Linked DNA regions of Homo sapiens: region 2 is linked to region 1. Evidence: promoter capture Hi-C in human tissues and cell types (Jung and others, 2019). All regions are on one chromosome and are shown on one strand. Each heading gives the region's core, a stretch centred on a gene start or on the middle of the fragment in contact. The rest is flanking DNA. Distances are from core to core; before and after follow the strand shown.

The links. Contacts are between HindIII fragments. The study calls those that stand out against the background at their distance.
Region 2: a contact is called between a fragment that was not itself captured here and the fragment with the promoter of C11orf24 in region 1, in 1 of the 25 tissues and cell types used here (aorta).

Annotation. Positions count from the first base shown.
Region 1 is chr11:68,269,416-68,273,302 of GRCh38, forward strand. C11orf24 (chromosome 11 open reading frame 24) reads right to left here and starts at 2,558. Exons shown (of 4, transcript NM_022338.4): 1 at 2,442-2,558. It overlaps LOC105369363 (a long non-coding RNA gene), which reads left to right and starts at 2,687. Exons shown (of 3, transcript XR_950248.3): 1 at 2,687-2,761. RefSeq lists a silencer at 2,356-2,755 and an enhancer at 2,667-3,521. The HindIII fragment of the contact is 13,528 bases long and covers 109-3,887 here.
Region 2 is chr11:69,049,687-69,053,636 of GRCh38, forward strand. The region is part of intron 1 of TPCN2 (two pore segment channel 2); the gene reads left to right. Among named protein-coding and RNA genes, the nearest start is that of TPCN2, 2.7 kb to the left of the region's middle. RefSeq lists enhancers at 1,650-2,224, 3,375-3,948. The HindIII fragment of the contact is 3,678 bases long and covers 765-3,950 here.

The DNA of each region.
Region 1 (3,887 bases), core at 1,308-3,807:
CTCAGGAGATTACAGAAACAGCTCGTCACCTCTTATCATGGGAAGGTTATCAGTAGGTGGTGATATCAAGGACCACCATGGGCCTGCTCCCAACACAGATGCCCACGTGTGCACACACAGCCACACATACATGCACTTAGTCACACACGCTTGTGTGCGCACAGCTGCACATATGTCCATCTGCACATGCACACATGCCACCACACATGTGCACTCACACAGGCACACACATACACATGCAAAATCACACACACAAAGGTGAGGGCACACACACGGAGCAGGTCCACAAGGCTATATCAGGACACTCCACGGGTTTCTCAGGAAACTTCTGCTGGATACCATCACCACTTACTCCCTCCCAGCCGGTGGGGCTGGTGGTCACTCCCACAGAAACAGGAATTGGCCACTGTGTAGTCGAGAACAGGCCTTCATTGTCCTATGACTTCATCCCTCTGCTATGGTCCTGCCTCCACTTTCCAACAGAATATTCTAAATGTCAAGATCCCATGCGGGAACCTGTGGTCATCTATGTAAGTTGACTCATGATGGACAAACCATTAACAACATTTAAAATAACAGTTTCCCCTGCAAAGGCTTCAAGCCAAAATTAGGATGTGGGTCTCGGGACCCCACCAGTTATTCTCATTATTATGTGGTACAGGGAGACTGGGTAGATCAGGGTCTCAGACCATAATAGATGGGAAAAAAGAGACCCCAGGGGCAGGAGGGGAATGAGCGAGAGAGAATTAAGTTTGTATTAAGTTGGAGACCAGGGCAGATGGAAAGACGGAAGGTTAGGCTGGCACTGGGAGCTCCCTTCTTCAGGGGTCAGCTCCCCATAGGATCTGCAAGGAAGGTGCAACAGGATACTCCCTTGAGCCATGTGACACTCCATGACAAAGGCACCCCCAACTATGCCCCTGGGTGTCAACCTCCCTATCCTTTTCTGGTTCATGACCTCGAGATGCCTCCCAAGGCATCTTGTCTGAATTCTTGTGTTCCGAACCTTGGCTTGTTATATGTGGCGCACTTTATGCAAGTTACACAAAACTGGACTCCAGGCGTGGTGCTGCATGCCTGTAATCCCAGACACTCAGGAGGCTGAGGTGGGAGGATTACAAGCCCAGAAGTTTGAGTTCAGCCTGGGCAACATAGTGAGACCCCATCTCTTAAAAAAAAAAAAAAAGGGAAAGAAATAACTTAATTCTTTTTTTCTGGCATAGAGAGGTTCCAAAGACCAATCCTGAAGCTTGGTAAAGGACTACAGCTGTTACCCCCACATTCTATCAGGCTATTAAGACTCACTCAGCCGCAACATGGCCAGGCCCCCACACCAAGTTAGGCAAGCTACAGATACCAAGGAGTAGGAACTGCAAACACAAATACAGGGCAAACTGCAGGTACCTAATCCTGACACGTCACCTGGCTGAACTTTGGTAGCAGAAGCCCAAGGAACACAGACTTATGGCTTTGTGTATATAGACATTGTCCTGTAGTCCAAAGGATGTGACTCTGTGGCAGACGGGAACCTAGAACATTGGACATTTATTATATTACATTAACTACCTTGCTTGCTTCCAGGTTTCTGGAAGTTTTGGTAACACAGCTAAATACTAGGGCCTAGTTTTTGCTAAGAACGTGGGTAGCTCTGACATTCCTTTGTCCATTAGGCAGATCCACTGTATAAATGGAAACATCTGTATTTTAAAGATTTTCCTAGCTGATTTTATCGAAATGTTAGAGATTTTCCTGGGGCGAGGGATAGCTGCAAGTTATTACAGTCAGATTTCTAAGCACGATGATTATTTCTGGTGGCAAACCATGCGTGTGGAGGCCGATTCCTCCTATCAGCCTAACGATTAAGTCAACATGCTAAGCAGCCACACGGGGGCTACTAAGTGACTCGCACGGGGGAAGCAGGCAGGGAGACAGATGGGCAGGGGAGGGAATCTGGGGCAATGCACAACCTCCACCCAGGTAGAGAGAGGGTCTGGGGGATAGGTCTGTGTCACTCAAGTAAGAGCGACACTTCTTGGGGTCCAGTCCCGTCCTGGGCTTGCCCGGGAAAGACCCCAGGACAAATTCGGCCCCCTTCCAGAGTGTCCCCATTCTGCTCCCACAATGGGACAAGCCGGCCTCTTCTCCAGTCTGGGCCCCCTTCGGCCCTCCTCCCTCCTCCTGTCTCTTGGGCCCCCAGCCATGCTCGGCCCCCAGTTGACTTCTTCAGTACCTGCATTGCTCAGCGTCTTGCACTCTGTGCGTGCCCCATCCGCCGCTCCTCCTGTCCCGTTCCTCCTGCCTCTCTCAGCCCCACTCACTCTCCCACTGCCCCTCGTGCCCCCATCCAACCCTCCTCCTGCCCCCCAACCTCTGTCTCTCAGTCCCAAGCCAGTCAGGGAGCCCTGACAGCAGCTACCCGGACGGCAGTGCGAGCCCCTTACCCGGGCGCAGCAGGCCCCCGGCGGCCTGGTGGCCCTCGGACAGTAGGAAGGAGCCTGAGGCCCGGCGCGGGGACGTGGCCGGCAGCGCAACCCAGGCAGCTCCGGGCAGCGCGCCCTGCCCGGGCCCCGCCCAAACGCCGGAAATGACGTCACGGAGGGCGGGGCGGGCCTGCTGGCCGGGGCGAAGAGCGGCTGCGGCGGGGCCTGTGGCGAACGGAGGCGAGCCGGAAGTGGGGGGGTTGTCTGCTCTCAGGCCCCGCCTCCCCGGGGCCGGCTCGGGCCACTTCTTGCGCGCTGCCAGAAGGAGCTATTTTGAGCAGGTCTGTGGCGGAAGTGGGTGTTCCCGGGTCTCTGCTGCCCAGCTGTGCCCGCTGCCGTCTTGGGGTCCCGGGGTGCGCGGGTTGGGCTGGGTGAGCTCAGAGGCACCTTGTCGGCAGCCGAGCCTGAAGAGGCGACCTCGAAACGCCTCGTGAGACCTTTCGCGGGCACACGCCCTTCGCGTTCCTCCGCTTCCTCCCACGTTTCTTCAGCCCCTGGCGGGGCGCTGGGGTGCCCGGTAGTTAAGGGTGGGGTGGCAGCGAGCGTTTCTGTGCACCCGCAGCGTGCCACGCCCGTGCTAAGCACTTTGCCTATAGAGCCAGTGGCTTAATTCTGCAATAGCACAGTGAAGAACTTCGCCTCATTTTACAGACGTGGAAACAGGCTCATCAAGTGCTCTGTAATTGTAAAACCTGGGATAACAAAGGAGCAAAACGCAATTTAGAGGCAAGTGTGTGGGACTTGACTTTGGTTAGAAATAGGCTTTGCAGGCCAGGCGCGGTGGCTCTTGCCTGTAATCCTAGCACTTTGGGAGGCCGAGACGGGCGGATTATCTGAGCTCAGGAGTTCGAGACCAGCCTGGGCAACATGGTGAAACCCTGTGTCTACTAAAATACAAAAAATTAGCCGGGCGTGGTGGCGTGCGCCTGTAGTCCCAGCTACTCGGGAGGCTGAGGCAGGAGAATTGCTTGAACCTGGGAGGTGGAGGTTGAAGTGAGCAGAGATCGTGCCACTGCACTCCAGCCTGGGCGACAGAGCGAGACTCTGTCTCCAAAAAAAAAAAAGAAAGAAAGAAATAGGCTTTGCAAGTTAGTAGTTCTGTGACTGAATCCCAGTCTGTATAAGACCCTCAGGCATCCCCCGGTCCAAACCAAAACCTGTCTGCGAAGGATGATTTCACAGGAGCAAACCAAGACTTTATTTCCAGTTTTATAACCTGCCTTGGGGTCTTCGGCTAGGAAGCTAAGAGACACAGAAAGCTGAGATTGGGCAAAGACAGGATCTACCATCCACTCCGAGCTCTGGGAGCACCTGAAATGCGATTTGATGTCACCACCACCATCCCCAGTTCAACCACAGTTCATGTGTGGAATTTAACCTGCAAAGTTGGGTTTGCTGAGACCCAAC
Region 2 (3,950 bases), core at 1,354-3,853, 780 kb after region 1:
CCTAGACGGGGGCGGCTTCCTCTCCTTGCCCTCTGCCACCCCAGAGTCCCCTCTGCACTCCCTCCTGCCCTTCCCGTTTTTTGTCCTGGTCTGAAGATTGCTGAATCCGCCCCCCGAGGGTGGGGTGCGTCCGCCCCTCGCTGACACCAGGGGAATGAGATTCTGGATTAAGAGGTGGAAGGACCTTAGCTTCACTTCACAGATGAGGAAACTGAGGCCCAGAGAGGCCCTGAGACCTGCCCAAGGTCACAGCCCTCTGTTCTGGTGCGGCTGCTGCTCGAACCACTCTGAGAATTCACACCTGGCTCCTTCCCTCTCTGGCCTCTCTTTCCTTCTTTCCTCCTCTGTCTGGAAGGAACTGGGTTGGAATCCTGGTGCCCACCCACTGGTCTGTGGCATGTGCCCATCCATGGAGTAATGAGGGGCCAAGGAGGGGACCCTGACGAGAGATGAAAAACCAGAGGCCAAGGTGGCCACCCTGTCTGCTCACCTCAGAAGCTGCCTCCAGGAAGTTCTTCAGGTGCTTCCTGGGACCAGTCAGGAAGGAGATCTGCAGGGAGCAGCTCTGGCAGGCCCCTTGATGAGACGCCCAGCATATGGCACCGTTCAGGGAACACAGACTTTGTGTCTAGGGGTCTGGGCGCCTTTCTGGGGCTGCACTGGCTGTGTGACCTTGGCAGGTTGCTTAACCTTTCTGTTTCTTTTTTGAGATGGAGTATCACTCTGTCACCCAGGCTGGAGTGCAGTGGCGTGATCTCGGCTCACTGCAGCCTCTACCTCTGCTGGGTTGAAGCGATTCTCCCGCCTCAGCCTCCCAAGTAGCTGGGACTGCAGGCGCCCGCCACCACACTTGGCTAATTTTTGTATTTTTAGTAGAGATGGGGTTTCACTGTGTTGGCCAGGGTGGTCTCAAACTCCTGACCTCGGGTGATCTGCCTGCCTCGGCCTCCCAAAGTGGTGGGATTACAGGCGTGAGCCACTGTGCCTGGCCATGCTTCACCTTTCCGAATCTCAGTAAAAGGGAGATAATACTAAGGACTGCCTGGCGGGCATTGTGAGGATTCAGAGAGAATCCAGAGTTTGTCCTCAGCACAGGGCCCGGCGGGCTGGTGTGGGGGCCAGTGGCCGTCCTGGGTAAGCTCTGTGATCATTGCAGGTCCTCCCTGGCAGGTGAGACCCGCTCTGCTGGGCAGTGTGGCTGACAAGAGGAGGCTCTCGGGGAGCGCTCTTTGTCCCTATGCTGTGGCCTCAGCCAGGGCTTCTGAGAACGTGGACAGGACGCTCTGTGTTCTGAATCCCCTTGGCCAGGGTCCCCAGCAAGGACTGGCAGACTATGGAGCCATGGAGACTCCGAAAGGCTCATTCAGTCTCTGTGCTGAGGCCTGTGCCAGGCTTTGAAATGAAGGCCCTGTGCTCTGGTTTGCAAGTCCTGTGGTTGGTCTCTTGCCAACGGGTTGTGGTGAGGGCTGCTGCTGTGGGTGCCCCAAGGACCCCAGTGGACCCTGCTGTTGGGTCGTTTTGACTTGGCCCCACCTGATGGGGCCGGGGTCAAAGGTTGAGAACAGTTGTTTTCTCTTGTTGCTGGGTCAGAAAAATCACACTTTTACTGGTTATCAAACAAGTCAGAGGACAAGGGATTGCGATGCTGTAGAGGCTTTCAGAGTAACTGAATGCTTATGAAGGGCTCACTTAGCAAAGTACTCTGGCTATAGTAAGTCATTCAGTCTGTACTTAGCTCCTATTGGGTGGGGGTCCATGAGGACCTGGAGCACCTAGAGGTTAAGGGACTTGCCCAGGGTCACAGAGGATGATGGTCAGGACCCTACACAGGTTGTGCAGCCTGGAGCCTGGAGCAACAGGGGAGCGGGAGCTCAGACCTGGATGTTGCGGGGCAGAGGCTTGGATTAGGAAGCCGTGTCGAGGCCTGGTGTGCCGGATGCAGCATCTCAGCCCCTGCTGTCCTCTGTGCCTTGCAGAACCCTTCAGCCCCAGTGGGTGATGGTGTGTGGAAAGGTGATTGTCCCCCAGGGTGATGAGCTCAGGGCGGGGCGAGCTGTCCCAAGGGAGTCCCTGGACTCACAAATTGGGGGATGGTGCTCCTGGCAGAAGCAGCAGCCTGAGTAAAGGGTTGGAGGCTTTGGAGAGCATGGCCTTGGCAGAGCCCAGTTCGGAATGAGTGGCACTGAGGGTTGAAAGGCAGGAGAGAGGCGGGCCGGCAAATGTGGGAACCTGCAGTGCCAGACCAGGGTGGAGTGTGGGCCTGGAATAGTGGGGGCCCAGGGGAAGCTGCGATGTGCTTCTGAGTGTTTGGAACGAGATCCTTGGGCTGTTGCAGGGTGAAACGGAGGATGGCCAGACCCAGAATTTTACAAACCAGCAACCAAAAAGCCAGGCGAAAGGGAACCACGAGTGCTGGATGGTTCCAGGGGTGCCCACCACTGTTGGCCTGGGATGGCTGGCCTGGGTGGATGTGAGTACTTTCCGTGGTCCTGGGGCTGGAGTGAGGCCCGGAACTCGGCCGCTTGTCTCTTGTCTAAGAAGCTTGTATCACTAGATCTCTCCTGGTAGAGATTTTGTCTTCTCCCAGGGAATCTGGTAAGGTGGGGCCTCTCAGATCACCGGCCCCCCAGGCTCCCCTCAGGGCTGTTCATTTATTCATGGGATATATCAGCTTTGAGTCCTGTGTGCTTGACTTCTGGGCTCTGCAGATACAGCAGGGAACAAAACAGTGTGGCTTCTGTTCATAGCGATCCCAGGATGTGCTCAGGGGACATAAACAGTAGCCACTTTCAGAGCTTCCCTGGGGAGACATTCGGGTGTCCTCAGGGTGGGTCTCGTGGCTGTGCATGTGGGCACCAAAGCCACAGGGAGGGAAGGCTCTTGCTCCCGGCAGTGCAGCAGGGCCGGGCAGAGTGAGGGTGGGGTCCGGTCTCCTGCCTCTGTCTGGGGCCCCTCACACCTCTAATCCGTCCAGGGCCCAGCTGCCTATACCTCATGCCCCCAAGCAGGAGCCCCGAGGACAGGGGCAGCTGCCTCCCTAAGGATGGCCAGTGGCGTGGGCGGGTCATGGCCTGGAGCTCTGCCTGGGGACCAGCACCTCCTGAGGCCTCTGCTGCTGCCTCCCATGTCACCACATTGTCTTGGTGCAGCTGTGGGCCCCAAGGGGCCAGGTGTGAAAGCCGAGTCTCAACTGAAAAAGCAGCTGCTTCACCCTCTCCCCGTGCTGGGAAGTGTCAGCCTCTCCGGGCTCCTCAGTTGCTTCGGGTTGAGTTTTCCTTCCCTGTTGGCCTGCTGGGGAGCAGCTCTGCAGCGAGGCCAGAGGTGGCCCGTGCCTACGATGCGGGTGGGTGGCCCAGGCTCCCTGCAGTGGCTCAGTGGCTGACCAGGTGCGCCCGCTGGCTGCTCTGTGGCAGGTGAGGGGCTTGTGAGCAGGCCAGGGTGCTGGGTCCTGGCTTCTGTGCCGCCTGACTTTTCCTGAAGGCCCCTCCTAGTCAGGAGCCACTGCCGCTTTTGCCCAGGCCTGCCGGGAGGCTCCACCCTGCTTGTGCTGTTGGTAAAGGCGGGCGGCCACCCTTCACCACAGAAGGCACCGGCAGAGGCTGGGGGACTCGGGCGTTCCTGCAGCTCTGACCCTGGGAGTGATTTGGGTGGGCTTGCCTGGGCCCATGGACCGGGACAGTGAGGGAATGGGACCTTGGTAGCACTCATGAAGCCTCATGGCAGTGCCTTTGGGTTCTAGATGCCAGTTCTCCCTGTCACTGTTGAATCCGAGGTCTGGTTTGATGGGGGTGGGTGGGACACTGGGTACAGTGTCCTGGCTCATGAAGACTGTGCAGGAGCCAGGTAGGGCCGAGCGGAAGAGGGGTGACAGCAGCCCCATGTACCGAGCATGCCTGGGGAGCGTGGCAGGGGGCTCTTGTGCTCCTGCGTTGCACCTCACAGTACCCTCT